Regions from separate parts of the Homo sapiens genome. Here all the other regions are linked to region 5. The links are contacts of gene promoters, found by promoter capture Hi-C in blood cells and fetal thymus (Javierre and others, 2016). All regions are on one chromosome and are shown on one strand. The core of a region is centred on a gene start or on the middle of the fragment in contact, and the rest is flanking DNA. Distances in the headings are between cores, read along the strand shown.

Region 1 (3,839 bases), core at 800-3,299, 750 kb after region 5:
GGAAGATCATACTTTTGGATTGTCTGGACTTGTTATAGGAAATGAAATTTTTATAATTTACTGAAGAAAAGTTAAAAATTAGAAATAGTAACAAGCTGGCCCAGATTGATTATAAACAAATATTAAAAAGAAATTTAAAAAAATTAAATAAGAAGAAAAATGCATCTGGTCTCTTATTTTTGTACATTTTAGGGGATTTTCTGAATGAGGAAGATAAGCTATTTTATATTTATGATCCTGGTTTTCATGTCTTCAGTTGTGTTCATTGATGCCTAGTACTTTGGTAGTTGACTCAACTTCACATCTGAATATGATATTGTTTCTCTGCTTAGCTCAGGCTTACTGAGCAATGTAGTATTTTCCATGTAATAAGTTAAGGTCTGTTTGCTTGACAGGTGAGTACAGACCACACATGTATGGGCGTTGTTTGCCATCAAGTTAGGAGCCTAAGAAGCTGATGCCCTATATTATTGTTTCCCTTGGAGTCATGGTATCTATCTGTCCTACTTTTTTTTTTTTTTTTGAGACCGAGCCTCTCTCTGTCGCCCAGGCTGGAGTGCAGTGGAGCGATCTCAACTCACTGCAAACGCCGCCTCCCAGGTTCAAGTGATCCTGCTGCCGCAGCCTCCCAAGTAGCTGGGATCACATCCGGCTAATTTTTTTTTGTATTTTTGTAGAGACAGGGTTTCCCCATGTTGGCCAGGCCGGTCCCAAACTCCTGACCTCAGGTGATCCCCCTGCCTTGACCTCCCAAAGTGCTGGGATTACAGGTATGAGCCATCGTGCCCAGCCTGTCATACTTTTTAAAAGTGATGGGTAAAGCACTTAAGGGGTCTATATTCAAGCCAAGAGCACAATTTTGCAGTAGAAAAAAGAGTTGCAAATCAAGCCCTGGATAAATATCTCCTGCTATTAAATGCAGATGGCTTCTTCCCAAAGAAAGAAAAACTTTTTTTTTTTTTTTTTTTTTTTGAGACTGAGTCTCGCTCTGTTACCCAGGCTGGAGTACAATGGCATGATTTCGGCTCACTGCAACCTCTTGTATCCTGAGTTCAAGCGATTCTCCTGCCTCAGCCTCCCGAGTAGCTGGGACTACAGGCACATGCCACCACGCCTGGCTAATTTTTTGTATTTTTAGTAGAGACAGGGTTTCACTATGTTAGCCAGGATGGTCTCGATCTCCTGACCTTGTGATCCACCCGCCTCGACCTCCCAAAGTGCTGGGATTACAGGCATGAGTGACCACGCCCAGCCTGAAAAACTTCAATAATTTTATCTTTAGCTTTTCCCTAATCCTACCCCAACCCCATGTTGTTTATCTGACCTATATTTTCATTCTTGTTCTTTTCCCCTCAAATCTTAAACAAGGCTTTCTACCAAGGTTCCTACCTATTTAGAAATGCCAAAATACAAATAATGTATATAAATCTATATTTATATACATATTTCTATCTCTGTAAAGATATCAATTTCTCTGAGCCTTTTAGAGGCTCAATAACTATTTCTGTTTCTTAGTTTGATTTGTCTTTGCAGGTTTGGAATTACAAGCTTCGGCGCTGTCTTTTCACATTGCTTGGGCACTTAGATTATATTCGCACCACGTTTTTTCATCATGTAAGTAGTCATGGTGGCGCTAGTTTTGGAGCATTCTTAGTTTCCCCATAGTAATCTTTATTTGATCCTTGAGAACCCATGTTTTAATAATAGAGTTGTTTTTGGAGTGGCTCTTCTACAATCTGTGTGGTATTGTCCTTTCTGCTTTTTTTCTTTCTGCAAAAGGAAGCACTTGGGATTATACTGAATTTAATTTTATTGGATTCAGTGGATTCTATGGGAAGTCATTGTTTCTCTGTAGGGAAAAGTAGGGATTTGATTTCAGATTTGCTGAACCAAAAAACAAAAGTTTGCCAGCTAATCCCATGTAGGGTATTATTAGTAAGTAGTAGGTGTGTCTGGAAGAAGGTCAGACTAAGATGCCATTTTGATCAGCTAACAAACGTTTCGAAGTATTAACAATCATACCCCTCTATCCTAGGATTTTTGGGTCTGGTGGAGGCTGTTCCCTTAGCCAGGCTTACTACTTTCTTTGATCTGCCAGGTAACATAGTAGATTTAGATAGTGAGGTGCAGATTACAGACTCCCAACCTCTGAATCCAGTTGCACCCTGACAGGATCTCCTTATAGTTCTGTGTATTAGCATTAACTTACACTATTCTTTGATTGCCAGTAAATTAAGTCTCTTTAATTAAGTTAGAAAGAATATGATGAAATAAACAATTTACTGGTTGAGTATATATTATTTCTTTTTTTAATTAAAAAATTCTAGGATAGGAGAGAATGAGAAAATTACAGCTTAAACATTTGAGAATGATAACCACTCAATAAGATAACTTATTAAGTAGGAATTATTTGTCATTGCCATAAAGGACTTCCTGAAGACCCTTGCCTAGAACAAGTTGCCATCTACCTGGAAAGTTACGAAAGACCTTATTTTCTTTCATTTTACCAGCTCACTAAATATGTGTGTGCCTTATACTTGCTAAGCTTTGTGCTAAATACTGAAGGTAGAGATACTATCTCTATTGAAAATAGAAATACCATCTATTTTCAGTGTTTAACACAAAGCTTAGCAAGTGTAGTAAGAAGGAAGTGTAAATAAGAAATACTTCCTTTTCTCAACAATCTTATAGACTCCAAAAAGGCTAAATTGTCTTTACATGTTACTTTCTGCTTTGCTTGCTGAGACCTGGGAATTTTTTGAAACTGGACAGAAAGAAGTCAGACAATAAAATAATATTCCCATCCTAGAGTTAAAGGTAGAAGAGTCTTTCACAGGATCTTAATTTACATGATTAACTGTATATAAATACACACACACACACACACACATATAGAAGTAAATGTAAATGTATGTTTCACTATCTGCCTCTGAGAATGTATTGTGCCTCTAACTGGCTTCCATTCTTAAGTCTTATAGGTGAAAGTGCCGAAGTTGAGAAAAGCTGTTAGAGTGGTAGAGAAAAGGAGACAGCTAACCTGATAGCAAAAGCAGCAGCCCCTTTGCTAATGTAGCTGAGCCGTTAAGCAATGCAGTTCTTTAGAGAAAAATGATTACAAGAACCTGATAGAACAGATTTGTTTAATGTTTAAAGCCTTTGTCTGGAATATCTTTCAGGAATATCCCTGGATTCTGAGTGCCTCCGATGATCAGACCATCCGAGTGTGGAACTGGCAATCTAGAACCTGTGTTTGGTAAAGCAGGAGGCAGAGGGCTCGAAAAGAGTCTTCATTTTTCCTAGTTTTTCATAATGAGCTTCTCTTAGAACAATCTTCTCCCTTCTCAAATGGACTATGTCGGCTGATTAATTACTGATTGTATTTGTAGGATGCTTTTAAGTGCAAAATAATAAATGTAGAGGCAATCCCATATATGAATCTGGACTTCCAATAATTTCTTACCAGGAAGAGAAGTCATATAGCCTTTTAGAACAAGAACTTTTAGCTGGTTTTCAATTATTTTCCCATAAAACCTGAGTCAAGGTCTAGACCTTTGTCTTATTTTGTGTTTGGAGCTGGAGCTTTACATAGAACTTTCCATGAAGAGTTAGGGACCATTTAAAGTGATGGCCTTGGCCCGGCGCCATGGCTCATGCCTGTAATCCCAGCACTTTGGGAGGCCAAGGCAGGCAAATCACCTGAGGTTAGAAGTTCGAGACCAGCCTGGCCAAGATGGTGAAACCCCGTCTCTACTAAAAATACAAAAATAAGCTGGACGCGGTGGCGTGTGCCTATAGTCCCAGCTACTCGGGAGGCTGAGGCGGAGAATCGCTTGAACTGG
Region 2 (3,773 bases), core at 980-3,479, 550 kb after region 5:
GCTTTCTTTCTTGGATTCTGGAATTTTGGTGCATGCTAGGTAGAGGGTGCCTACGTTACTGCCTGCAGAGAAAAACCCTAAATGCCTAGGCTCCATCGAGCTTCTTTGGTAGATTACATTTCAAACATGACACAACATGTTGTTGAAGGAATTACATACATCCTGTTTGACTCCACTATGAGAGGACTCTAGAAGCTTGCACCTGGTTTCCTCTGGACTTTGCCCTTTTGCCTTTGCTGATTTTCTTTGTGTTTATTCACTGTAATAAATCGGCCATGACTATGGCTATATGCTGAGTCTTGTGAGTCCTCCTACTGAATGACTGAATCTGGGGGTGGTCTTGAAAACCCCAACACAACTCCTGAATGTCACTACAATCTATCTACCTCTCTTTCACCACTAACTACAGTAGTCCAGGTTGCCATCATCTCTTACCCAGACAATAGCACTTGACCTCTTGCAGTCGTGCCTGCTCCCAGTCCAATCCATTCTCTACACCACAACCAGAGTGATCTTTCCAAAACACAAATAATGGTTATATTGGCCATGCTAATGTCATCTGGTGGCAGAAAGGACCAATGGATTGCTGTGGTATAAGGCTTTGTATATGTAATAACTTATAAGTTGAAAATTTATAATTAAGCCCTGGCACAGTGGCTCACGCCTGTATTGGGAGGCTGAGGTGGGTGGATTACTTGAGGCCAGGAGTTCAAGACCAGCCTGGTCAACATGGTGAAACCCCGTCTCTACTAAAAGTACAAAAACAAAAAAAAAAAAAAGCCGGGTGTGGTGGCACACACCTGTAGTCCCAGCTACTTGGAAGGCTGAGGCACGAGAATTGCTTGAACCCGGGAGGCAGAGGTTGCAGTGAGCTGAGATGGTGCCACTGCACTCCAGCCTGGGCAACAGAGCAAGACTCTTTCTCAAAAGAAAGAAAAGAAAGAAAAAAAAAAGAAAAGGAAAGGAAAGAAAGAAAGAGAGAGAGAAAGTTAGTTTATAATTAGAAGAAATTCTTTAACCTGAAAAAAAATGGAAAGATATTCAGTGGTCTAATTGCCAAAAGTGTACCAGCCTAGATGGTCTTAAGGGCTAGTCCTATCACCTACAATGAAAGGATAATTCCCAGTCATCTTAACTGTCCCAAGGCATAGAAAACAGTGGGAAGCTTCCAAATTCATTAAATACTATAATATAACACTGATTCCAAAGCCAGATAAGGATGATCCCCCACAAAGAGATACATAGGCCAGGAGTTAGCAAACTATGGCGTGTGGCCACATCCAGTCTGCCATCTGTTTTTATTTGACCCACGAACTAAGAATAGTTTACATTTTTAAAATGGTTGAAAAGAATTCAAAGAATAATAATATTTTGGGACATGTTAAAATTATGTGAAATTCAAATTTCAGCATCCATAAATAAAGTTTTATTGAAACACAGCCAACACGCATTCTTTTATGTGTTTATTATGGCTGCTTCCATACTACACCAGCAGAGTTGAGTAGTTGCAAAGGAGATTGTATGGTCCACAAAGTCCAATATTCACTACTGGGACCTTTACAGAAAAAGTCTGCCACATCCTGATATAGTCCAATCTCACTTATAAATATAAATGTTAAAAATCTTAAACTTCAGTCAATTTTAAAGCAATGCATTAAAAGAAAAAAAAATGCGACCAAGTAGGATTTTATCCTTAGAGTGCCAGGATGATTTATCTTTAAGAAACCATCTATTGTAATTTGCTGTTCAAACAGATTAAAGGAGATGAAAAAAATAATCATCCTGACATAGTCTACAATATATATTTGATAAAACTGAATACCCATGACTGATTTAAAAAGTTTTCAAGAAAGCTAAAAATAGAATGTGTTTTAGTCAATATCCAATTTTAAAAAACTGAGACCATGTTAAATACTGAAAACTCAACAAGCTGAATATAGGGAATTGATTCCAAAAGTGATGGAGGAGTAAAACAGGGAAGCTGAGGTTACCAAGCAATTAATAATTCCAGGAAGTTGCTATGGAACTTTGTCCCTATGGAAATTTGTCTTGGGAATCAGTGCTGCCAGCTTTCAAGATTCTAAGAGTTCACAGTCTCATCAAAACTGTGAGACTCTGGGAGACAAAAATAACTCACCACTGCAGATGCCACCATCAAAGCCTGATCCCACCAGTACCACACTAGCAAGACTTCTGACATGCTTGCTGGAACTGCACTGCTACACCAGGAACCCTGAAGCGGTACTCATCTTCTGCTATCACTGCCACTACTGAAAACATTACCAGAAACCAAGATTATGGAAAAATATATAATTTATTCCTTCCATCCAACTTTAACCAATACCACCCAGTGACAAAATCTAATCAGAAGCCATCTGACAATGGAAATGATAAATGTAGTTTGCAGACTTCTAACCTTCTGAAAAACAAGGAACACAGAAGGGTGGGAATAGAGCTGAGAGCAAATAAGCAAATGACTGGCTCGGGTTAAACTTTTACAACTTGATACAGCATATGTAGCAAACATTTATTGGAAACATTAGAGGCATTCTTAATAAAGAAATGAATACAAGTAACCATTCTTGTATTCAGTGAATACAAGATCACTGCTACTCTTCAACTGTATTGTATTGAAGATCCTTGTTAGTAAAGTGAGTCAAGAAATACATATAAGAGGCTATCTCACATCTAGAATCAGTCATTTTTCTAAGGGGCATTGGTTCTTCAGAGAGAATATTATTTATCCACCAAGATCTTGGATAATGTCACTAATTTTTAGTTACTTAAGAAATATGTGAACACATTTCTATCATCTTTTTAAAAATCAGTGTAAAAGTATAGAGATAGAGAGAGTGATGTCAGCAAAGTGGTGGACTAGGAAATTCCAAACTCTCTCTTTCCCCCAACTTAGAGTAATAAAAAAACAGCCAAACAAACAAAAAAAAACCCAAATGGTTGAATTAACCTTATAGGGACTCTGGAAAACAGTCAGAGTTTTATAACAACCAATCAAATGCCCAATGAAGAAAAAGCCACTTTTGAAATGGTAGGAAAAGTTCCATGGCATTTTTCTTGCCCTTGCCCCATCCCCTCCTCATCCCAACAGAAAGCTTGTTTAGAGGAGGCAGGAGTTCACTTCTCAGTTCCCTCTCTTGAATGGGAGGGAACATAACAGATCTTATTTGCAATATTCTAATCTGTCTTAGGAGTCCATGAAGAACTGGTCTCTATTTCACTTAATTCAGATCTCAAGTGGGAAAGTGCCACTACTATGAACCCAAAGCTATCAAAATAAAGAAAATAATAAAGATTAGACCAGAGATAAAATAGAGAAAATTAATGAACCAAAAAGTTGATTACTTAAAAGGATCAACGAAATTGGCAAATTTAGTTAGAGTGGTTATGGAAAAAAAGACAGAGTGCTCAAATTACTAAAATTGGAAATGAAAATGAGGACACTACAACCAATTTTTCAGAAATGAATAGAAGAGACTACTACAAACAAATTGGATAACATAGATGAAGTAGACACAATTTTTACAAAGACTGAATCATGAAGAAATAGAAAATCTGATTAGACCTATAACTACTAAGAATATTAAGTAAATAATTTTAAAACAACTTCCCAACAAGGAGAAGTCCTGGATCAGAAGGCTTCACTGGTCACCAAAGAGTTTTAAAAGATTTTACACTAATCCTTCTTAAACTCTTCTAAACATTGAAGATAAATATATTAATTCACTCTGTCTTCCATGACAAAATACCACAGACTT
Region 3 (3,414 bases), core at 109-2,608, 730 kb after region 5:
TGTAGTCAAAAGTTTCCTGAGAGATGGAGGTAGGTGGGAGGGGGAACAGAGATTCCAAAGGGTTAGGAGAGCCTCGAAGGCGGCCAGATCATCAAAGCTGTAGGTAAGACGACTATCTCAGGTCACCTCAACTGCTAGTCAGCTTACAGTCATGTGACTTTCGGCTTCTCTTGGCCCCACCTCCCAGCTGTGACTATCCCTCATATGTATTACAAGACTTCTGAAGCCCAGAAATGGGGAAAGTAGCCTTAGTAAAGGTCTAAGATGAACATCAGCTATTATGTGTCTGATTCTTAACGGTCCCCCACCTCCAGTGACTCAGCCACAGATGCTGTTCCCTTATTCTGCTGTGGTCCTAGTGATGAGAGTCAGGAGCCTAACGGCTCCTGGATGGAGATAGCAGTAAAGGAGTCCAGAGAATAAAAGTAAAAGGCCGCCTCCAATATATCTTATCAGTGGGGGAAAGAGGGGGCTGGTTACATACCAATTCAGGGTGTAAAAGCTTCCTAAAAAGAAGGAATCTAAGCTTCCTAAAATGGAGGAATCTAAAGGGGAGACACATGTAGACACATCCAGAAGCTCTGTGCTGGTTAACAACTTAGGTCAAGTGCTGAGGTCTTCTCCAACCAGTAGCCACTCTCATCTTTACTATCCTCTTTCTTCCCTGCCATTGCACCCCAGCCAAAGAGCCCTTACCCCTTGAAAGAAGACAAACATGACATTGCGGGGCAGGGTGGTCACATCAGGTGCCTTTTGCAAAGCTTCAGCAGCAGCCAGCTGGGTGACAAAGGAAGCCACTGCGCTTTCAGCCCCTGGGGCCACATTCCAGAAAAAGGAACGACTATCCAGCTAGGTACAACAGAAGAAAAGTCAGGGGATATATACTTTAAAACTGGCCCCAAACCTCCTTTCTTGCTCCAGTCAAGAGAATATACCTGTCCTGTGGCAATGGAGACAACCCAGGAGTCCCACAGCCCAGATTCCTCCCCATTTGAGGCTTCCCAATTTAGCAACTTTGAAATCTGATATGCTAGAGCGGGGCCTACCAGCTCTTTTTGTGCCAGCCCTGCCCATCCTGATCAGAAGCCAACACTCACCCGGGTGGCAGCAACCACAACCCTGTCGTCAGGCTTTAATGTCCCAGTTGTATTTATAGGCTTTAGCATGCTCCACACATTGTAATCAGACAGGGGGTCACAGACGATTTCTAAGCAGGACACAAACAATGAGAGATCAACAAGGCTAAAGGAGAAGGTAGCTATAAAGGCAACATTGGAAATCTCTGACCAGTGCCCCACGGACTCTAAGTCGTTTTCTCTACTTCCAACAGTCCGAGGTTGGCTTCTCTGCCACTATCCACTTTAGGAACAAGCTGCCTAAATTTTTCAGAATTGTTTCTAGTTCTCCCATGCAGAGCTCCTTCATGGTGTCTACTCCTTCCCTATTACAGTCTCTCTAACATTCCCTGGCCTGGTTCCACTCTCCCTCTGCCCCTTATTCCATTACCCTCATGGTTCGGATCTGCCCTACCTGGGTTGATGCTGAAGGTGCTTTGGATGGAGCTGCGCCGCATGCAGGTGGCAGTGCTGATGACAGCATGCATGTGTGAAAAGAGCTGCATGGCACATAGTGGGAAGGTTGGTGCTGAGCCATTCTGACTCAGGTTGTGATCTTGATAGCACTGAAAGGGGAGATGGACCCCACTGAGACAGCTAGTTTGTGGAGGCCCTCCCTTACATCCCAGAAGGAGGAGGGCCCAGTTCCATCCTTTTGGGATGGAGCCACACCCTTTTCGGAGACATTTATCCCTGAGCTATAGTTATCCTAGAACCACCATAGGATCTATAAGGTCAAAGAAAAAAACTCATCAAGAGTTACAAAGGGTTGCAGACTCAGTGGTTTAGCTGGAGATGAAACTATCCCATTCCAGATGGCCTGGCCCAATTTGAAGCTTCAGCCACTGAAAAGATTCAGTGTGGTCTGATACAAAGAGCACCAAACTAGAGATAGGAAATCAGATATGACACAGCTTGGAGATCAACTCACCATACAACTTTGGACAAATCTCTTAACTACTCTATGAGTCAAAATGGAAATACTAGACCAGAATTAAGGCATATTAGAGCTAAAAAGAAGCTCAGAAATTACCAAATTGAATTTCTCAATCTCTAATCCAATGCTTTTTTTTTTAACGATACTAGTGGTTCTTAACCTGGGCTGTGTACCTTGTTTCATATTACTCTTTCAGATATTCTTTATATTTTCTTCTAGTCTAAAAGGCTTTAATGCTGTAATATCAGGTAGGAGCAAAATGTGGGGAAAGAATGTGAGAAGAACTAACGTCTTGGTTCTTTTTGGAGCAACCGTCTTTCAGCAGGTGTACCAGAAGAATGAGCCACCCTCCAAATAGGAGAGCCTATAAAATAATCCTTTTTTTTTTTTTTTTTTTGTGACACAGGGCCTTGCTCTGTCACCCAGGCTGGAGTGCAATGGTGCCATCTCAGCTCACTGAAACCTCTGCCTCCCGGCCTCAAGTGATCCTCCTGTCTCAGCCTCCCGGGTGGCTGGGACTACGTGCACACACCACCACACCTGGCTAGAAAAATAATCTTCTTTCTAACTGGAATTGCTAGGAGCTGGCAGTGTCATTACCTGCTTGATGACTTTGGTTTCATTTTCATCTTCAAGAAGAAAGATGGGGAAACTAAAGTCTTCATAAGCCAAACCATTGCCCAGCGAATTCCACTGTATTTCTCTGCAGTGAGCAAACTCTGGCCCATAGGAATTGGAGTAAACACCTGAAGGGAAGGATGGGGAATAGGGGGACTGGTTACTGGGACACCAAGTACTTAGGAACCAGGTGACGGCAGAAGAATCTTTCAGTTGGGACTAAGAGTTCAAAAGGAGGTGGTGACTCAAAGAAGTAGGCATGAAGTCTATTACCATCCACACTAAAATAGAAAGACAATGGTATCAGGGAGTCTTAGGCTGTAAGATTAGGGATGTGAACACGTGACAAAAAGAGATAATGCCAGGTAAGGCAAAGGAAGGGGAAGCAGGAGAGGGAAGGGATGAGCAGCAAAGACAAATAAACACTACCCCCTGTTTGGGAGTCAGTTACTGACACTACACACAGACACAAACACATATACATCCCTCACAAAGACGTAAGACCGAAGCAACAGTGAGCCTTAGGTGACAGTAGGCTCTCCTGATCCTTTGGGACACTTACCAAACCCATCATTTGGGCACTGTACACTAGGAGAGAAGCCTGAGGCAGGACTGGGCTTGGTCAAGGACACTGCAAGACCAGCAATTCGGCTGGTTCTCCCTTTCAGCTTCTCCATTAAATCCCTGGAATAGGAAAGGAATTCCATGAAGGAACACAGGAAGGTATCAGACAGCCTGACATTC
Region 4 (3,870 bases), core at 278-2,777, 930 kb after region 5:
TGGCCCAGGTCATTTCCAGGGAGAGGGGGAGAAACAGACTGGAGAATGTTAGTCCAAACTGAGACTGCTCCATTTTGTAAGCTCCCTGCAATTCTTTTTTTGAGATGGAGTCACTCTGTTGCCCAGGCTGGTGTACAGTGGTGCGATTTCGACTCACTGCAACCTCTGCCTCCCAACAGGTGTTTCTCCTGCCTCAGCCTCCCAAGCAGCTGGGATTACAGGGGCCCATCACCAGGACCAGCTAATTTTTGTATTTTTAGAGGCGGGGTTTCACCATGTTGGCCAGGCTTGTCTCAAACTCCTGACCTCAGGTGATCTGCCTGCCTCAGCCTCCCAAAGTGCTGGGATTACAGGTGTGAGCCACCACGCCCGGCCTAGCTCCCCACTATTTTACAGGCCTTGGTCAAAGTGAAACATTTCACGGGGGTTCGGGCCAGAGAAACAGCCTGCCTAACCACCTGACCACAGGGCAGACGAAGGCCCAATTAAAGACAAAGACCCCACTAAAGAAACATCCCTATCACATCCTGCTGGGCAAAGGTCCAGGGAATACCATGATTATATTCTGTGGAAACAAGGGCCAAAAATCACCTCATCATGAGAACATCTTATCGATATCCTGCCAGGCAGCAGGCCATACAGCCCAGACTCCTCCCATCCATCCCTATAAGTACCCAGCCTGTAAGTGGCAGTGGACTGTGGAATTAAGCTGATCCCCCACTTCCACAGGTGTCTGCAATATACCTGTGCTTGCTGTTGAGCTGCCCTGTCTCTCTGTGTGTATCTTTTTTTTTTTTTTTAACCCTCTCCTTCCCTCCAAAGCCTAACAGAGAAGAGATGTGGCTCTGGCCTGTGTGTTTCATTCTCAAGGTAAGATGTTAAAGATAGGTGGAGGAGTGTTTTCAGAGGGCAGCTGTCAGCGCCCACTTTGGGTGGCCTCACCATGACCACTTCCTTCTTCAGTTCCTCCATATTGCGCTTCTGTTTTTCCCTCTTCACCATTTTTTTCTTGATAAGCCCTTTTTTAGGTCTTCGTCTTGGACTCTGGTCATGGGGAGCCACTGTCCCTTTCTTCCCCCAAAGCCCCATAGCTATCCCCAGAAAGAGCTGCCCGAGCTCAACTGTGGGAAGAAAGCTGAGAGAGTGAGGCAAGGGGAAGGGAAGAGGGCGCGCGGGCAAGGGGGCCACGAGAAGAGAGTGGTGGGGAGAGAATGAGGGAGCAGAAAGAAAGAGGCAGGGAGGGAGGTGTTGGGTGGTGAAGGTGAGAGAGAGGAAGGGAAGTGAGAGAGGAGAGACTGAGCGGTCCTCCAGCCGTCCGCTGGGAAGAGGAAGAGTCAGGAGTGAGGGAAGAGGGAGGAGAGAAGCCTAGGGTGGAAGGATAAAAAGGTAGAGGTGAGGGAATGCAGTGAGGGCAGGAAACAAGAGGTGAAGCGTAACCAGGTGCCTCAGTGATGAAGATGCCGCAAGGCCCACAGGAAGGTGGGAAATGCAGTGAGAGTGAGGAGGCGGAGTGAGCTTCAAGGATCTGGGAACCCCCCAGTCCCAGGCCCTGTGGTTGCTGGGGCAATGACCCAGGTCTGGCATCACAAAGGCCTCCTGAAAGTTCTAACCAAGAATCCAGAAGTCTTGCCTTGGCGATGGTCCAGGTCTGCTGTCGCAAAGGCCTCATGAAGGTTTTAACCAAGAACCTAGAAGTCTCAGTCTTTGGGTTTGAGGACGATTGGAGCAGGCCCTGCTACAGAAAGAGTTTCAGTCTGAGGGCAGAACTAGAACAAAGTTCTTGTGTGGTCCTGCAGACTTTGGAGGCTTAGAGGTATGCCAAATAGATGACTCAAAAATAAAGCGGGTATTCGGCCGGGCGCGGTGGCTCATGCCTGTAATCCCAGCACTTTGGGAGGCTGAGATCGAGACCTTCGTGGCCAGTATGGTGAAACCCCATCTCTACTAAAAATACAAAATTTAGCCAGGTGTGGTGGTGGGCACCTGTAATCCCAGCTGCTCGGGAGGCTGAGGCAGGAGAAACATCTGAATCCAGAAGGCAGAGGTTGCAGTGAATTGAGATTGCATCACTGCACTCCAGCCTCGGTGACAGAGTGACTCCATCTCAGACAAACAAACAAACAAACAAACAAACAAACAAACAAACAAAAAACCATAGCAGGGAGCTTACAAAATGGTGCAGTTGCAGTTTGGACTAATATTCTCCCGTCTGTTTTTGAGACTCCATCTCAAAAAAAAAAAAAAAGCAGGTACTCTGTGTGTGTTTTTTAGCAAGGCACACTTTTCCACTAACATTGGGTTTGATCTTTTAATTTTAGGAGATCAGCTAGCAGAATAGATCAGATCTTGGGCTCTGGAACCAGTCCTGGATTTCAATCCCAACTCCTCCACTTGTCAGCTGTGTGGCTTTGAGCAAGTTACCTAACCTCTGTACCTCTCTTTTCTTATTTTTAAAAGAGGATACCTTCTACCTTAAGTGAGGTGCTCTACAAAAAGCACTATGTGACATATATAGTATGTGCTCAATAGGTAGCTTGAATTCAGTAGTAGTTTTATTTGTGGATTAATATGCAGCTCTTCTCAGTGAGGGTAAAAATATGCTTTTCCATGTGATAGCGTTGCATTTTCTCATTTTAAAATGATGTACTTACCTCTTCCATTGACCTTCTCTGGTGTCTCAGTAAGTGCTTTGACTATATTAACTGTATATATGTTTTGCATGTCCATAGGATTCTACCTCCTTCCAAGAATAATCTGAAGCATCTATACTTTTCTGTCAACCATTATATATATTTTTCAATTATGCACGTCACATAGATTTTCCCATTCTGTTGTTTGATATTTGTTTATTTACTTTTTGAGACAGGATCTCACTTTGTTGCCCAGGCTGGAGTGTAATGGTGCGATTATGGCTTACTCCAGCCTCAACCTCCCAGGTCCAAGTGATCCTCCCACCTCAGCCTCCCAAGTAGCTGGGACCACAGGCATGTGCCACCATGCCCGGCTAATTTTTTTTATTTTATTTTAGTAAAGACGGGGTGCCCCTGTGTTGCCCAGGCTGGTCTCAAACTCCTGGGCTCAAGCAATCCTTGGCCTTGGCCTCCTAAAATGTTGGGATTACATAAGTGAGACACCAAGCCTGGCCTGATATTTATTTAATTGCATTTTGGTTGGGCATGCTTTTTAAAAATATGACTGTATCTGGAAACATTCATCTTGGTGCTGATGCAATCCTCCTTGAATATTCAGAAATAGAAATGCTCCCTTCCCAGCTGGGATAAATGATCGTCTATTTCTTTAACAGATTGGATTTTTCTTCTCTATTAAAAATGTTTAAGATAAAAATTGAAAGCCCCACCTTCCCTCCCTCCAAACTCAGATTCTCCCCACTGCTGAAGTTACTGCTGGTAACAATGTGCTGCATGTCCTTCCAGTCTTTTTTCTATGTTTATACAAATAGATATCTAAAAGGAGGTATTTTTCAACTTTTAAACAATCATTCAACTCTCTACCAACCTGTCATGTACATAAAGCTTCTTTTTTTCAGTGCTGTGAGGCTTCCATATTCTGTATTGACCATGCTCTATTCAATCATTCCCATTACTGATGGATTTATGAGATATTTTCCATTTTTTTAACCATTAATAAAATTGCTAGAGTGTCATTCTTGCACATAGATATCATCAGGCCCTTGAGCTTCTATTTCTGTAGAATCAGTTCCTGTTGCTGAATCATAGAGTACACTCATTAACAATCTTAAAAGATTCTGCCAATTGGTCTTTAAAAGTGTTTATCTATCTGCATCCCAACAACAGGATGCAAGAATGTCTGCCTTCCACACCTTTGATTATGCTAGATGACCTTGATTTT
Region 5 (3,401 bases), core at 78-2,577:
AGTGAGGGAGGTGGATGAAGGCGGAGAGGGAATCTTCTGGTTTTTAAAGTTCCTTAGCACTCCAAGGCCAAGGTTATGGGGCAAAGAGTGGATGGAAAGGGGTTTGCTGGGTTGTTTGTGTCACCTGTCCTGGATGGTGAGCTTCGGTGCGTCCCTCCTAGGTCCTTTCTCACCCCAGACTCACCCACATACTCCAGCTCTCGGTGGAGATTGTTGCTGTCAGGTAAGGGGAGGCAGGAGTTAACAAAGGAGCATGAGACCCTAGACAGCCTGGACCCCTCCCCCTAGCCCCAGGCAGGATTCCCCTCACCCCCCCAAACCCACACCAGACAACCCTTACCCAGGCCTGGAGCCAGAGCTGGTTTTTCTGGTGGTGGCAGCAGCAGAGCCCTGACAGAGATTCCCAGGGAGAGGCCTCCTTGGGGGGCCAGAGCTGCTGAGGGGCCCAGGGGAGTGGCTGGGGGTAGTGGTGAGAAGGTTGGCAGTCCTTTTAGTAGGAACCTGAGGAGCAAGGGGAGAGGGAACATTTGTTTTGTTCTGCTGGGGAGTCCTTAATGGCAAGTTCCCATCACCTGGAGGGACAGTGACCTCATCTCTGGGTACTTCCACCTTGAGCCTGAGATTAATATGTCTTCAAGTCTTGGGGTAAGGTGGGGAAGGATGCTGGGGGTGACATTCCAGGCAGGATGCAGAGGCAAAGGCTCACAGCCACATACCACAGACCAAGGGCAGCTGAGACAGAGAGACATGTGGAAGCCAAGATAAACCGACAGCAAAATATTTACTATGTGTGCAGAGTTCCGCGAGACAAGAATGCACTCCATGCATACAGAGGGTGTGACATGCACACGGAATCATGTGTGCACACACATTCACACATACTGATACACAGCTCTTCCCTCTGGACACAGACAAGTAAGTACGTATATGCCCCTAAGATAAGACATGAACACATATATGTGCCAAACACCCACCAGTTTATGCAAGAAGATAGCCTCACATGCGTTTGAACCAGCACTAAGATTGGCCAGGCCCTCAGCCACAGCTCCCCATACACAAAAAACTCATACTTACTCCCTTCCTCCTTCTCACAGACCCACCTCTACGATCCCCTACATTCACATCTGTAAGTCCCAGCAGGGGATACTGATGGAGAAAGGCCCCTCATAAAGAAAAGATACTTCCTTAAAGATGCTCTTGATGGCTGGGTGTCAGCAAGTGCCAGCCTCAGTTTCCCCTCCTGAGATCAGAGGCCAGGCTCACATAGGAAGGAAAGTTGAGACCCAGGCATAGGGTGGGGAAGAGCCAGCCAGCCCAAACCTGGAATGGAGGGCCTGTCTGGGAGCGGGCGGGGTACACAAAGGGCTGGGCTCCAAAGAGGCCCGTGGGGGCCTGGCCAGGGTGGGGGAGGCCAAGGGCAGGGATCCCGTCTGGCCAGTTGGGCCTGTTCTCTCCCTTGCGCAAGGTGGTGGTGGCTGTGGCTAGGCTTGCTGCTGTGAGGCAGCTTCTGAGTCACCAAGGCTCCTGACCAGCGTCCTGGTACTCCAGGGAGGAGGGGTGGGAGGGTCAGAGGGAGGAGTGTCTAACCAGCCGGAGTCCACCAGCCTCAGTAAACAATTTGCAACAGAAGGGTCCCTGGGCTTGGCCTGGCCTGGCCACCACATGCCCTCAAGGTGACCTCACCAGGCAGGCAATGTGTCTCCTTTGGTCTGATGACATCATCATGCTGACGCCAGGCTGACACTGGGTGGAGGAGAGAAGGAGGAGGCAGTCCTGGCCTGCCCTGGCCTGGAAACCTGGACTTCTGGGTCTGTTTAGACAAGGACAGGGATTCTAGGGCCCAAATTCTATTTTCTCTTCTCTTGTACCCTAGGGTGGTAGGGGGGTATGCAGCTGGAGGAGGGTGTTGCCTCAGGCTGAGATGTTCCTACTAAGTAGTGGATTTAGAACAATGAGGATCTGTGGGAGATATCCAGAAGGGAATTTCCTGTTTTACTGGGTTCCTCGGTCTGTGAAGCTTCAGTGTGTCCCCTAGGGGTGGGGATCGTGGACTCACAGGTGAGAACATGGAGGATTGACATTCAGGCATGCGCTGGGTATCTAATGCCTGCTGTACCCTAAGAAGGTATTTTCCAAGGGAAATATAGGTGATTAGTGGTGGGGAGGCAGCAGGTGGTTGGCTAGTATAGGAATAGGGATGGAAAATATGCCATCTGATATTGTCTCAGAAATAGTCTTTAGAAAGGTTTGAGTGTCCTAATGGGGCAGGTCTTGGGATCCCTGTGACCTTCACAGACACCAGCGTTTGAAGCAGAGGATATGTTGTGCTGGAGATCCCCTACCCAAGCTCACTCACAGCCCTTCCTTGGCAGCCCTGTTCTTTCCAGTGCCAGGAGGAGAAAAAGCCTGGGAGGGGTGCGGGTGGTTAGCTGGACTCCCAGGCTGGGCTGGGTGGGACCAACATTAGCTTAGGCAGGTCAGGGCTCTGGTATCTGGCCCTGCAGGTCTATCCTGTCCCATCTGGGCCCTCTCAGCATCCTTCTTCCCTCTCCTTCTGGTAGCAGGGCCACAGGAACCCCTTCCTGTGCTCTATGTGCTGCCTCACTAAAACTCTCTGATCCATTCTGGTGGGGCTTCATTTCCTCCCTCCATGCCTGCCTCCTTCCATCCCTATTTTTTTCCTCTGTCCAGTCTGGAGGTGCTCCCTTTGGCAGTGAACCCAATTAGCTAGCCCAGCCTATCCTGCCTCCACCCCAAGGTTACCATGTAATGTTCCTCCCTGGCCAGCCCAATGCTTGTTCCTCCTCATTTTTTTTGGTGGCGGGGGGATGGTGTCTTGCTTTGTTGCCCAAGCTGGAGGTCAGTGGCATGATCTTAGCTCACTGCAACCTCCACCTCCTGGGTTCACCAGTTCTCCTACCTCAGCCTCCCGAGTAGCTGGGACTACAGGCGCCCGCCACCACGCCCATCTAATTTTTTTATTTTTAGTAGAGACAGGGTTTCACCATTTTGGCCAGGCTGGTCTCAAACTCCTGACCTCAGGTGATCTGCCTGCCTCAGCTTCCCAAAGTGCTGGGATTAGGGTGTGAGCCACTGTGCCCAGCCTGTTCCTCCTCATTCTACACTTTCCTTCTGTCTCTCTCATTTATTAATTCACCTGTTCATTCATTCACTTGGTCAATAAATGTTGACGGAACCCACATACCACTGAGCACTAAATCAGAAACAATGGTTCCAATGGTGATGTGAGGCCCAGAAAATAGGGATAAAGTGCTGTGATGGGAATGAAAGCAGGGTGCTGGGGAGCACAGAGGAAGGGCACCTAATGCTGCCTGGGGTGGGGGTGGGAGGAGGGAGGACTCCTGCTGGAAATGATGTCTAAGCGGAGTCTTAAATGATGA

What was found. Contacts are between HindIII fragments. The CHiCAGO score rates a contact against its expected background, and 5 or more counts as called.
Region 1: a contact is called between a fragment that was not itself captured here and the fragment with the promoter of NECTIN4-AS1 in region 5, in 1 of 17 cell types (non-activated CD4 T cells). The highest score is 5.4, in non-activated CD4 T cells.
Region 2: a contact is called between the fragment with the promoter of CD84-AS1 here and the fragment with the promoter of NECTIN4-AS1 in region 5, in 12 of 17 cell types (total CD4 T cells, naive CD8 T cells, total CD8 T cells and 9 more). The highest score is 12.1, in total CD4 T cells.
Region 3: a fragment that was not itself captured here is called in contact with the fragment with the promoter of NECTIN4-AS1 in region 5 in 1 of 17 cell types (activated CD4 T cells); the score reaches 5.8 in activated CD4 T cells.
Region 4: the fragment with the promoter of ATP1A4 here is called in contact with the fragment with the promoter of NECTIN4-AS1 in region 5 in 7 of 17 cell types (non-activated CD4 T cells, naive B cells, erythroblasts and 4 more); the score reaches 7.9 in non-activated CD4 T cells.

Annotation. Positions count from the first base shown.
Region 1 is chr1:160,333,017-160,336,855 of GRCh38, reverse strand. COPA (coat protein complex I subunit alpha) reads left to right here. Exons shown (of 33, transcript NM_004371.4): 4 at 1,534-1,614; 5 at 3,177-3,253. Among named protein-coding and RNA genes, the nearest start is that of COPA, 8.3 kb to the left of the region's middle. The HindIII fragment of the contact is 997 bases long and covers 1,551-2,547 here.
Region 2 is chr1:160,535,552-160,539,324 of GRCh38, reverse strand. CD84-AS1 (CD84 antisense RNA 1) reads right to left here and starts at 2,229. Exons shown (of 2, transcript NR_188634.1): 1 at 2,138-2,229. The HindIII fragment of the contact is 1,945 bases long and covers 1,168-3,112 here.
Region 3 is chr1:160,349,489-160,352,902 of GRCh38, reverse strand. NCSTN (nicastrin) reads right to left here. Exons shown (of 17, transcript NM_015331.3): 4 at 3,233-3,354; 5 at 2,653-2,798; 6 at 1,531-1,681; 7 at 1,098-1,207; 8 at 697-849; 9 at 1-16. Among named protein-coding and RNA genes, the nearest start is that of NCSTN, 7.8 kb to the right of the region's middle. The HindIII fragment of the contact is 1,190 bases long and covers 764-1,953 here.
Region 4 is chr1:160,149,260-160,153,129 of GRCh38, reverse strand. It overlaps ATP1A4 (ATPase Na+/K+ transporting subunit alpha 4), which reads right to left and starts at 1,527. Exons shown (of 22, transcript NM_144699.4): 1 at 943-1,527. The coding sequence starts at 1,089. The HindIII fragment of the contact is 4,407 bases long and covers 1-3,535 here.
Region 5 is chr1:161,081,752-161,085,152 of GRCh38, reverse strand. It overlaps NECTIN4-AS1 (NECTIN4 antisense RNA 1), which reads right to left and starts at 1,327. Exons shown (of 4, transcript NR_183641.1): 1 at 1,075-1,327; 2 at 341-501; 3 at 125-216. The region is part of intron 1 of NECTIN4 (nectin cell adhesion molecule 4); the gene reads left to right. The HindIII fragment of the contact is 5,052 bases long and covers 1-2,019 here.